Linked DNA regions of Homo sapiens: region 2 is linked to region 1. Evidence: promoter capture Hi-C in 16 types of primary human blood cells and fetal thymus (Javierre and others, 2016). All regions are on one chromosome and are shown on one strand. The core of a region is centred on a gene start or on the middle of the fragment in contact, and the rest is flanking DNA. Distances in the headings are between cores, read along the strand shown. Region 1 holds the start of LGSN (lengsin, lens protein with glutamine synthetase domain). Region 2 overlaps EYS (eyes shut homolog).

Evidence for each region. Contacts are between HindIII fragments. The CHiCAGO score rates a contact against its expected background, and 5 or more counts as called.
Region 2: a fragment that was not itself captured here is called in contact with the fragment with the promoter of LGSN in region 1 in 9 of 17 cell types (M2 macrophages, M1 macrophages, endothelial precursors and 6 more); the score reaches 8.0 in M2 macrophages.

The regions. Positions count from the first base shown.
Region 1 is chr6:63,317,142-63,323,733 of GRCh38, reverse strand. It overlaps LGSN (lengsin, lens protein with glutamine synthetase domain), which reads left to right and starts at 3,751. Exons shown (of 4, transcript NM_016571.3): 1 at 3,751-3,820. The coding sequence starts at 3,791. The HindIII fragment of the contact is 640 bases long and covers 3,528-4,167 here.
Region 2 is chr6:63,785,719-63,792,310 of GRCh38, reverse strand. It overlaps EYS (eyes shut homolog), which reads left to right. Exons shown (of 43, transcript NM_001142800.2): 38 at 3,087-3,253; 39 at 4,062-4,206. Among named protein-coding and RNA genes, the nearest start is that of SCAT8, 18 kb to the left of the region's middle. The HindIII fragment of the contact is 9,890 bases long and covers 1-6,592 here.

The sequences.
Region 1 (6,592 bases), core at 2,502-5,001:
AGCTAGACATTAGAGCAATTTGTGAAAATAAGAAATCAATTTTCTATAAAAAATGCTATTTATGTTAATATGTACAATGCCCATTATTATTATATTTTTAAATATGCTAATATTGATTAACATAACCTGTGTGTGTGTGTGTGTGTGTGTGTGTGTGTGTGTGTGTGTGTGTGTATATGAGGTTTTGGTGCTCTCAAGAATTTGTAGATATTATCACAATAAGTAGAATGATGCCATTAAAAGAAGGAAACAAGGACAACACCAGCTACCAATTTTTTAAAATTAATGGTGTTATAAAAATGTCTTCTGTGAATAGACAGTAGAGACTCAAAAGGGTGGAGTGGGATGAGTGATGAGAAATTACTTAACAGGTACAATGTATACTATTCCGGTGATGGCTACACTAAAAGCCAAGACTTCACCACTATGCACTATATTCATGTAACAAAACTGCACCTGGACTCCATAAATCTTACAAATAAAAAGAAATGTATTCTGTGGCACTCTCCTTCTAAAAATAGCTTGGGCTGTTTTGGAATAATTTTTAACTTATTATATGTGATTGCAAGCTCCTTATGTGCCTTGGAATTCAGAATTTCATGCTTCCACTTTCACAACTGACTTCATTTAACTTTATGAAGCTTGTGCTAAATATATAAATGCTTAAGGATATGTGAAAATCATTGAAAATGCTAAATTAAAATGATTTTAAACTAGTTTTAAATTGTATCAACTTTACAAAATAATTTTTTTCAGGGAGTTACGCTGTTTTCTACTCATTGCTTACTTAGGTTTATCGAAGGGGCAGATGAGAGGAGAAATTCCCTTTCTGAAACAAATGAAAAGGACACACAAAAATATTCTTCAGTTTCCCTGCCAATGTGTGTTTCCGCTCAGCCCTGAATTCACTGATTTTCTACCTGTCCTCACTCCAATATTTTTTAATCATCGGTTTTAAATCTTAATTCTGTAAACAGATCTACCATTTTCTTAGAAAATGAGGTATTTCTGGGAAGAACTGAAAAGAAATGGGGACTGGATTCATGAAAGGAACTTTTGGGGGCCTTTGTGAACAGGAGTTCTAGAACCACTAGGGAAGCTCAAATATTACTCCTTATAATTTTTGTATGATGTTATCTTCAATAAAGGGTGTCAATGTAGTCTTCCTGTTAGGTATGTCATAATTAGATGCATATAAAGGAGGAACAAACCCATGCAGCTTCTAGAACAACAACAAATCGGGAGAAAGGTAGGGTGGAAGTATCCTTCTGTCGTGGTTGTTATGTTCTTATGCTGACCTGAAACCATATTTTTGTGATTCATGAAGGTCATAAGAAAGATTATTTCCTTCACTGAACTTGGCTATTATTCTCACAAGTCAGTTATTCCCTTGGTCTCATTGGGCATGTTTTCACCCTATTTCCTTATCAGTTAGTGCTGGGAAGACAAGAACTTTGTATTTTATACACTGTACTGTAACATATAATATATGTAAACATGAAACAAAAACAGATTCATTGTGATTTCATTTTCTCCCACAGTGAAAGAATAGATTTAATCCTTTACCTAATTTGCATCCTTTGCTCTTCCAATCCTGTTCAATAATTCATCAGAAGGCAGTAACTTAGTGGTAAACAACATATTGTTTCCCCTTGTTGGTACTTAGTAAGCTTTAGCTTCTGCAATCTGTTCTCATGAAATGAATCCCATAATTCCTTTAATCATTTTAGTTACTCTTCTCTGGATCCATTCAATTAGATTACAACTTTTTGGCAGGAGAAGTACTTGAGTTGAACGGTCTTTCCATATGTTGTCTCAGAAGAGTGGTAAGAGAAAGACTTGTATCATTTACATTCATGGCTCAATGACTATATTCATTTTGACTAAGATAGCTTTCTGGATATAGTACAGATTGAACAAATGCTTGTGAATGAAAGTGTTTAATATGGACTTATTGACCATTTATTATTTTTCTAATCTATTTGTTAAGCCCTTTACTGACATTTGGTTTTTCCTTTGGAAAAACTGATTCTAAATAATGGTAATACTTTTAAAATATGTATCATGCTAATACCATAAATTAGGTTATACACCATATGTCCAACCAAGCTTTAGAACACTTTTTACAAAAATGGGCAAATCAAGGTTCAGGAAAGGATATTATAAAAAAATCATGGATACACATTGAGAAGAAGAGATTGTCAAAATAAGGTAAGGAAAAGAAGATGAAATGAATCAAATTGCATATTCAATAACAATAAAACTCCCAGGAGAAAATTTGGGTAAGTAGTACTATAAAGGAATGATTTTTTTAAAACATGTCCCAATATGTAACTGAACATGTAAACCAGCTTGGAGTTCTTTTCTTTGATATAGGAAAGGGAACATTTCTGAAACAAAAACGAAATTTTTCACAAAACATTTTTTTCCATAGCTCAATGGCACCTGTTTTGCATGGAGACAAGCACATGCAAGAAAAAGTTGTAAAAGTGGAAGCAAATGTGGTCTCAGAAGAGGATTGAGAAAAACTTAGGTAAGGCTCTGGTACAAGACATTGTGGGAATTAAACACCCTACTAGAGATCTGGGGGAAAGCACCAAGAGCAAGTCAAATACTAGGATAGGAGATAGAATCCCTTTTCTTGGGGAGGTTCAAGAGTCCAAAACAGCCATATTCAGGATGCAGTTTCAGGCTGGCATCAGCATCAGAACTAGGTCCAAATTCAAGATCTGGTTGTAGATCAGGCTACACAGAGCAGAAGCTTTAGAGTCAGTCATGGAACAAGTACCAATGGAATGGAAATAGGAATAGTTAATCACTGTCTTTAGGAAATGGGGCTTTTGAAATGGGCCAAGAGAGTCAGGCAGGATTGAGTGGTTGTAAGTATTGGCTTGGTCTTCCTCAGGCCCAGAAGACCAGGAAGAAGTGATTAGCCATGGAGACTATACACTTCCACATGGAAAATGCTTAGAGAGAATTTGGTTTGGTTCAGAAGAAACTGCATATCCTCCTTCATCAACAATACTTGAAGTTGAGTTGATAGCAGCAGAAGTGTGATTTCAAACCCCCTTTACTAGTGAAGAGAAAGCATTCCCTATTTCCTCTACTGAGTTAGGATTGTTTATGGGACCATATGGGGCAGCCTGTAGATGATTCTGTGTTCATTGTGCACAGTGGGGATGGTCTGGGATTTGTCACAGACTGACATCGGAGAATTGGAAAAGCTAAAGAAAGATATTTCAGTTTTATAATGAAGGTCCAGAATTAATTTGGAGGCCAGAGGGACCTAGAAAAGAAAATAAAAATGAGAATTACAAATGAGTGGATCTTTGCCATTGGTAAAAATCTGGGTCACTTATAGCTGTATTTTTCCATCTGTGCTTTTGTCTGTGGGCTTTGATAGCATAGTCGTCTAATAAGTGTTTCATCATCTGAATCTGACAATAGATATCATTCCAGAATACAATTGTTATGTAACAAAAATTCTGTATGTTGGAGAAAAAAATCAACCAACACAATTTTAAGCTTTGTATGTCTTTTGTTTGCAGGGAGTCAGGCGTAAACAAGCATTTGTCATTCGATTCTTCTAGTGCATTTCCAGCATACTGTGCCTTGGGCATGACACATCAGAATCTGATGTTTATCTTTTATTACCTGCCAGACCCCTCTGGAAAAGCCTCTATGGAATTCATCATCTGCAGTCTTTGTTGTAGGTACACATATAAATACATGTTGAATGCATTTGTTGAGGATATTGTGGTTTCTAACGCTGAACTTAAAAAGTGTTGAGATGAATAATGAAGAGGACCTTCTGCAGGAGGTATGAAGCTAATCATTAAAATGTTTTTAACCAAAATATTGACAGTAAATCTTTTTAAAAAATGTCAATTATTTGAATGCCAGTAAGAATAAGGGCAGCATAATTATACTTGTTATATGTCCACTCAGGAGAAGTTTATGAAGAATTGCCCTTCTGTACTACACAGTGAATTTATAAAGATAATAAAAACTAAACAATTCAAAATATTCATCTAGGAAAGCTCATTTGGTTTGAATAATCATTTAAGTTCAATAGGCACTGAGTTTCAGAAGCATAAGTATGCTATAAAAAAATTTATTTCTATTTTGGTTGTTATTGAGAGAATAATCTTTGTTTTTCTCAAAGCTTTGGCCTCTTTCTAATAAATATGCTTTGAGATTAAATGACTAAAGGTGGAAACCTGTTTTCAAATTATATTTGAAATGCACAGCATGAATAATGATAGCCACTTATAGGGTCTAGCATATATTAAAATAATCAGTTGTCAACATATAACATTTCTCCTCACTTCTTAATGTGTGTGTACCCAACCTTCACTCTTGTATTTCTGACTGACCATTCTGAAAGACTGAAGTGCAGACTTGGAGGCAAGCTGTGGTAAAATTTGGGAGGATGTGAGTTATCTTTAGTAGGTTAAGAAAATATAATGCAAGAAGCATACCTACTATGTGAAGAGTGCAGTGGAAGACCAGTGCATTATGTATGAAATAGTGGCATATAGAGAACAAACCTGGTCCCCACTTTTGCATGTAGTGGAGAAGATAGCTAACATCTAAGAATGGGTTCACTGATCTGTATAGTGAATACAAGCAGTTGTTTTGAAATAGAGTCAAGAACAAATGCACTTTCCCTAAGGGAAACTGGGCAAGGCTATGTGAAGAAGGCACTCCCTGAGGAGGAGCTGTGGCTTATCCTGTACTGTCATGTCACTGTTGTAGGCATCAAATGGTGGACATGTTTATGTGATTATAATGAATTTAGCTAAAAGTAAATTCATAGCTGCAAAGGAAGGCTTATAGAAAGAAAGTAAAGGTAATTAGCATATACATCATTAGCTTTTTGGGATTTTGATTTCTAACTATGTAACTTCTTGGACTAGTTTTACTTACTACTTCTGATCCCATGGCAGAACTCTGCTTTCTTCCCCAGCTCCCACAATTTTAGTCCAGGATTCCAGGTGATACAGCTCCCATGAAAGTCCTTAAAAGCCATGCCCTCCTCAAGACCAGTCTAGACCAAATGTTGATTGTTTACTCTTAGGAGAGCAGAAAAATGAACAATATGATTTTTAAACTGCACAATTCTCACAGCAAGAGACATTCTCTGTCTTTTGAGGAAAAGTTCCCTCAAAGTTGGAATAGAGCATTGTATTTACTAGATGTAATAAAGGTGAATCTTGGCTGGCCACTTGACCCAACTCCACTGAATAAGCTCTTTTATACTCTCCTGTATAGGTTCGCATTCTCAGGAAGTGAAAGAATATGGAAGGAGGGAGAGAGATGACATGTGACATTCCTTTTCCAGCTAACAGATGTTTGGAAAAGGACAAGACTGTGTTTCATGCTAGATGCTCTGGTAATGTGAGCAAGAGCAGCATGAAGTTAACTACAAAACACAGCAGCTGAACAAAAGCTCAGTGGATTCCGAAGGGCAGATTGTGTATATGGAGAAAATCCCTCAGAATACTTACTTCCCCAGTCTGAAGAAATTCTTTGTCAGAATATTCAGTAAAATGAACAGTTATTAATCTTAGGTTTGGTACTCCCCTAAAGAATATTTTACTGAGATTCTCTATTTAAAACAATGCTGTAAAGTCATGCATTCAGCTACATTCTTAGCAGTGGCAGACAAAAAATAGATTGAAAACACATTCTTACTTCTTAAAGTAGATCCTATGGGTGTATGAAATTGTGAAATTGAGTGAAAGAGTGGCATATCATAACAATTAAAATCTGTTTATCAAGAACCTTGTGTGTGGTGCTGAGCTGGGTAATATGTCAAGTGAGTAAGATCTGTTCCCCACCCTGCAGATATTTATAACTCAATACAGAGAACACTGACACAGGTAGACACAGTTCTGACGTTTCCATATCACAGAAGGAATGAATGCCATCTGGGGTGAAGTCAGAGACTCATCCTGCTCTGCAGCCTGTATCTGTTGGGGGCATGAAGTGCAGCCCCATGGGAGGCTCTACCTGACCTTCTAGAGGCTTGCTTCAAGAGGCTAGAGATTTACCTACCCCAGCTTTCCCTGCTTTATGCTATTGTCTGTGTGACTCTAGAGACCTCCTGATTCTTGTTTTGTATTTTCCATTTGTTTTGTCTCTGAGAATTCAGAAGATTTGTCTTCTGAAGATTTCAAGGTTTATAGTTCATTTTATAATTATTTACCTCAAACTTACCTACTTCCAGTGTATCAACTAGCTCTCCATTTAAGAATTCTCAGTGGAGAGACAAGACAAAAATTAGATTTGAGTTTCAAGGGCAGTGGATTAAGCTCGCACTTCCTGAAATGAGAATGCCTGCATTTTAATCTTGGCTCTGCTACTTACTAGCTGTGTGACATGGGGCAAAGTATTGGACTTCTCTGTACCTCACTGGGACATTAATAGTGCCTACAGGAAGGGATTTTGTGGAGATTAAATGAGTTAATACATGTAAAGTGCTTAGAACTGTGCTTACAATATAGTGAGAACTCATTAAAAAGGAGTCATTCATTACATATACTTTATTATGTTATGTTGACCTCTAATAGCTCTCCTGTTTTCATTT
Region 2 (6,592 bases), core at 2,577-5,076, 470 kb before region 1:
TTGAAGGAGTAGCAGAGGAAAGGAAAGCAACCTGATGGACTCATGGCATGGGAATAGTATGCTATCATCTGCTTGATGGGTGATTGGTTCCCTGGCTCTCCTTATCCCCTCCTCTTGGTGCATCCCCAGTCCTTTGCCCTGGGACAGGTCTGTAGGCAGGAGCACCTATAAACTAAACTCAGCCTTTTCCCCCAGACTGTTCCTTTCCTAGGGTCCTAACTCCATGACTGACCCTGCCACTGCACCTGGTTCTTTAAGCCAGATTCTGCAGAACCACCTTCTCTCTCTTCCTCAACTCTTCCTCAGCTCTTCACCCAAATTGATCTGTCCTTTCAAATTTTCCTTCCAAATCACAAGCAAATTTCCTCCCATTTTTCTGACCCCTCTGTCACTACCTTAATTTATTTAGGTGTTTAATGTATTTCAGTATCATTTCCTCTTCTGAATCACTTGAATGACTTTCCAATGAGCCTCCTTATGTACCTCTATATTCTATCCTCAACATTACTAGAAGATTCTTCTAACATCCAGATCTAATACACTTCTCTTATTCAAAATCCTTTCATGATTCCTAAGAGTCTCTGGTAAAATACTTACATCATTCATTGCAGCATATTAGACCCTTAAAGATATAGCCCTTTCTCCCTTTTCAGTTTCCTTTCCTGCCACAGGCACTAAATGCCAGTCAAGCCCACATCCCAGCAGTTCTTCTTCTTTTTTTTTTTTTTTTTTTGAGAGGGAGTCTCGCTCTGTTGCCCAGGCTGGAGTGCAGTGGTACGATCTCGGCTCACTGCAAGATCTGCCTCCCAGGTTCCCGCCATTCTCCTGCCTCAGCCTCCTGAATAGCTGGAACTACAGGCATGCGCCACCACGCCCGGCTAATTTTGTTTTTGTATTTTTAGTAGAGATGGGGTTTCACCGTGTTAGCCAGGATGGCCAGGATGGTCTTGATCTCCTGACCTCATGATCTGCCCGCCTCGGTCTCCCAAAGTGCTGGGATTACAGGCGTGAGCCACCGTGCCCGGCCCCAGCAGTTCTTAAACATACCCTGTTCTTCTCCTTCTGGGTTGCTGCAAAGTTCTCCCTTCTGATTTAAACAGCACTCTTCACTGTATCCTCTTTTTTCATCTAACAAGCTCTTGCTTGTCATTTTCTGGGTGAGCTCAGAAACTGACTCAAAAACCACCTTTTTGCTTTCCTAACCCTCTTCCTCACCATGTCTTAATGGCTGCCCCCATTTGTTTCTATTCTGCTCTTCGTGGAACTTGAAACAAACCTCCTATCTCCTCCTGACCAGGCTGTCAAGGACCTAAGGATAATAATGATGCTCCTGGCATGAAATGGGTTCTCCATAACTGGAGGAAGGAGAGCACAAGACAGAAAGGAAGGATACAGCTGAAATGAATATGCCCTCCCACTACCTTACAGCTCGGCTGGCACAATACTGGCTCCACTCCCATAACCTGGACAATTTGAAAGACAATTCAGATCCCCTCCAGAATCTCTCAGAAAAATTCCCATTCACAACCCACAGAAAAATCTCATGTTTCCTCCTCCACCCCTCCCAATTTCTTCTATATCCCAACAGCTGCCTGAAAGACTATCTCCAATCTCTAGTATTGTTTTCTCCTTTCTGCCTTTCTAACTGCCTTCCTGAATCTATGTTTTCTCTTGAAACATTGAACTTTCCGTTTTAAATATACAACCCAGCTAACCTGATGCAGCATTGCAGGTGGGAAGAAATCACCAGAATGTGAGGAAGTGAAAAAGAGACTTGCCATAAGTTCCCAATGTACTCGGTCTATGGTAGGTCACTTAATACAGTTGCTCTTAACCATGACTGTATATATTAGACTCACCTAGAGAGCTTTCAAAAGTAACCCTGCTCAGGGCCCATGGCAGACCCTTTAGAAAAGCAGAGGCAGCGTTCAAGTATCTCTAAATAATATTTCTGTCTTCCACTTTCCAGTGCCTCAGGAAGCCCACCTCTCCACCCTATCTGGAAACCTACCTCCCTGTAGATCTTTCTCTCCTTTACCCTGATCAAAGTAATACTAGAAGCCCAGTCAACAGACAAAGCATCATTCCTATAAATGCAGAAGGAGGAGGCTGTGCATACTCATAATAAATTTTTTCTATGTCAAGGACTCAATTCAGCTTTTTCTCCCATGCTTAAACCTCTTACTTCTAGGGGGTTCTTACGTTCTTCCTCTAAGCAGAAGTCTTTGCCTCAGTTTCCTGACTGCTAGCCTCAGTATTGAATTCTTCTTTTGCCCCACCCACTAACACACCTTTCAGAAGCTGGGTGACGTATTTGGGTCTCTGCTTCCTGTGAACAGATCTCTTGCTATATACTGATGGATCATCCCAGAACTTCTTAATCCCGCCAAGGATACTGCTAGCACCTTCCCCTAGTGATTAATGCTGGGTCACTCCCAACCACTTCCTTTGTCCCGTGGGTCTTTAAGAACTGTCTCCTGAGTGTTCTGGGTCCTGGAACTCACTGTACTGCATGGATGGCTCTGAACTAATGGAAGGAGAGAGAGAAGAGGGAACACAGAAACAATCCACCTTTAAATGGTCATGGGGCATGGTTAAGAGCTTTTGTAATAGAATAATGATAACATATTCTTAGCAATCATAGGAATAAATTGGTCTTTATCCTATTCTCAAATCATAGAAAGAACTTCAAAGCTGATGCTAGGTCATCTCAGCCTTTTGAATCTCGTTAGCTACCGGAGCAATTCTACTCCATTGTGAAGTTCTCCTTATTGTAAAGTGCACACTGAATTTCACTCCGACAAAAGGAGATTTTAATCCCATTCAACTTTTTAGTTGATCATTGATCATTCCCCAGGTTGACCAGAACCCTCATGGCTTCAAAGACATAAACTCTTGGTGCTCTGTTTCTGGGGCTGGGAATAACAACAGCCAGTTGCACATATACCTAAATGCTGACTAGAGACTAAATATGTATTATAACTTACCATACTGATCTGTAATTCAGAACCAGTCAGTAAAATAAAGCTGACGGAACTCCTGAATTTCCTCTCAGTGAGCATTCCCCATGTGTCTTCTCATTCCAGGGTTGAATGGCGATGACTTCCTGGCTGTGGGCCTGCTCAATGGCAGTGTGGTTTATAGTTATAACCTGGGGTCTGGCATAGCAAGCATCAGGAGCGAGCCCCTCAATCTGAGCCTTGGAGTCCACACTGTTCATCTGGGCAAGTTCTTCCAAGAGGGCTGGCTGAAGGTAAAGAGTCATTCCTTCGTCACTTCCACAAACTGAGAGCACTAGTATATTGTCAGATCTGTGCTAAGATACAGAGGTGAATAGCCCATGATGCCTACATCCACGAAGTTCACAGACTATTGTACCAACTAGGGGAATAGAGAGATGATTACAATTAAGTGGTGTGAGAACAAATAAGAGGGATTACTAACACAGATAAGGGTGAGAGAGAGGATTCAGAAAGTGCTTCCCAGAGAAGGTGATGCTTGAGCGTAACTTCAAATAGGAGTTAAGAAAGAGAACAATGGCCAGTATTAGCTTAAGGAATGCAAGTAGTTCAGCATGGTTTTTAGGTTGGGGGATGGGGGAGCTAGAGAAGTGGTTAGAGACAGATAAGGTCTATATTATCAAAGGGCTTAGATGTGCTAAGAAGTTTATATTTTTATCTAAAGAACTATGAAGAGCTACTTAGGAAGGTGGGTACCATGTTGATTTCTAATTTTTGATAAAGGACTCTGGTGGTTCTATGGAGAATTGATAGCAGAGGAGGAAGGCTAAATGGAGGGGAATCAGCAGGATGCCAGCACCTAATCTTTGAAGAACTTTGATTTTGATTGAAATGCAAAACCATGACTGCTATATTAATATATCCCTGGTAACAGACACCAGCAGAGAAGCAGAGAATTGAGTGGTATCATGTTATTTCTTCAAAATTCAGGTCTTTGTAAATTTTTCATGCCAAGTTAATGGGAAATAACAAAAGAGTATCTTAACATTTCACCCTGGGGAATTAATTCCTTTTTTAATAGGTTTTTTTTCCCTTTCGAAGGTAGATGATCATAAAAATAAATCCATTATCGCCCCAGGAAGACTGGTTGGTCTCAATGTCTTCAGTCAGTTTTATGTAGGTGGCTACAGTGAATACACTCCAGATCTCTTACCAAATGGAGCAGATTTTAAAAATGGTTTTCAAGGTAAGGCATGGACATTTTTTATATTATACCTACTTATTTCAAATGTTGAGGGAAAAAAATATTTTAAAGAGTATACTTCTATTTCCCAAACCAGCTATATGGATTGCTTTCAGACTTGAACAAAGTTTGATTTTAATCAGAAACATTCATTTACTATTTTTTTTTTAGATGGAGTTTCGCTCTTGTTGCCCAGGCTGGAGTGCAATGATGCAATCTGGGCTCACCACAACCTCTGCCTCCTGGGTTCAAGTGATTCTCCTGCCTCAGCCTCCCTAGTAGCTGGGATTACAGGCATGCACAACCACGCCCAGCTAATTTTGCATTTTTAGGAGATGAGGTTTCTCCATGTTGGTCAGGCTGGTCTCGAACTCCCGACCTCAGGTGATCCGCCTGCCTTGGCCTCCCAAAGTGCTGGGATTACAGGCCATGCCCAGCCTCATTTACTATTTATTGACCACTTACTACATATGTACTAGATGTTTAGGATGTTTTAATGAACAAATCAAAGATTTCTGCACTTATAACTAGTTGGAGAGATAAACACTAAATGTAATTAGTTAATTATATAGTCATATAATGTGATAAGTTCAATGGGAAAAGGGAAATGGAGAGCATGATTTAAAGGAATCAGGATTATGGGTAATTGTTTATACAGGGTGCTTTTTAAAATAGGCTGAGCAGGGTAGACTTCAAAGAGTCACAGTAAAAATTGAAAGTCCATCTAACTTTGAAGTTCAAAAGGCAAGAGACAGACTGCAGTCAACCCATCCATACCACCAAGGGGTAGCCCACAGAGGCCAGAGCAAGCCAAGAGGATTAAGGACAACATTGTGCTTGGGTGAGCAATCTTATTGCCACAGTCTGTCTTCCTGTGTTCAAATAGTTCCGTGTTCAAATGAGATCAGCACACACAGAGCTGGCCCTTTCTCTTACAGAAACATTAAGATTGCACACTCCTGGAAGTATGTCAACTGCCACAGTCTTTAGTGAGTATGGGAATCTTGGGCAAGTCTTCTTGGAAATTGCCACTTATGCCACAGTCTTATAGAAAATTCAGGACCTTGAGATCCCCTAATTTTATCATTCTTCTCTTGGATCCTCTCTTAATGTCTGCCTTCCCTCCACTCTAAACTAGCATTTACTATTTATTATAAATCATGGCGTATTGTTACCAACTTACCAGGACAACCAAATTGCAACTGTACCATAAATCCATGGTTCCCAAAGCTGATCTCTACTGGTTCTGAAGAATAATATAGGATAACTTCTTAAAAACACAGATTTCTGAACCCTACCCAAGAACTATTGAATTGAAATCTTTACAGTGGGATCTAAAAATTTGCATTTTAACAAGCCTCCCAGATTTGGAAGCCACCATATATTTTTTAAATTATCTCTTTTTTTTTTTAACTTTAAGTTCTAGGATACAAGTGCAGAATGTGCAGGTTTGTTACATAGTATACATGTGTCATGGTGGTTTGCTACACTCATCAACCCATCATCTAGGTTTTAAGCCCTGCATGCATTAGGTATTTGTCCTAAGGCTCTCCCTCCCCTTGCCCCCCACCCCTTGACAGGCCCCGGTATGTGATGTTCCCCTCCCTGTGTCCGTGCATTTTCATTGTTCAACTCCCACTTATGAGTGAGAACATGAGGTGTTTCATTTTCTGTTCCTGGGTTAATTTGCTGAGAATGATGTGGAAGCCACCACATTAATTAATCATAACGAAGCAAAGCAAATGGAATTTTCTGAAAGAATTTAATAGTTGGAGTAAGGATATCACATTTGTCCTTAGAATTACAATTAAATAATGCAATAAAATATTATCTGATCTAGGCTTTTACATTTTTATAAACTCTTTATTTTTATTTTACTTTACCTTTTTTTTTTTTTTTTTTTGAGTCTCGCTGTGTCATCAAGGCTGGAGTACAGTGGTGCCATCTCAGCTCACTGCAACCTTCATCTCCAGGGCTCAATCAATCCTCCCACCTTAGCCTCTCATGTAGCTGAGCCACTAAACCCAGCTAACATATCCTTACAAAGCTGATTTATATTGTAGTAGAGTTATAAAATAAAGACATGCTTTAAATTGTAATAACAATTCATTTGGTGAAGATAGCTTTTTGGTAGATCCTAGTCCCAGGGTACTTGGTCAAAGGTCTGTTCTTATAGTGTTCTCAGTCACTCAACCAGGTCTGGCCTACTATCCATGAACTTGAGAACTGCATCATCACACCCAGTTAATTTTTGTATTTTTATTAGAGACAGGGATTTTCCAGGTTGCCCAGGATGGTCTTGAAATCCTGGGCTCAAGCCATCCGCCTGCCTCGGCCTCCCAAAGTGCTGGGATTGCAGGCTTGAGCCACCGTGCCCAGCCGATTCCTA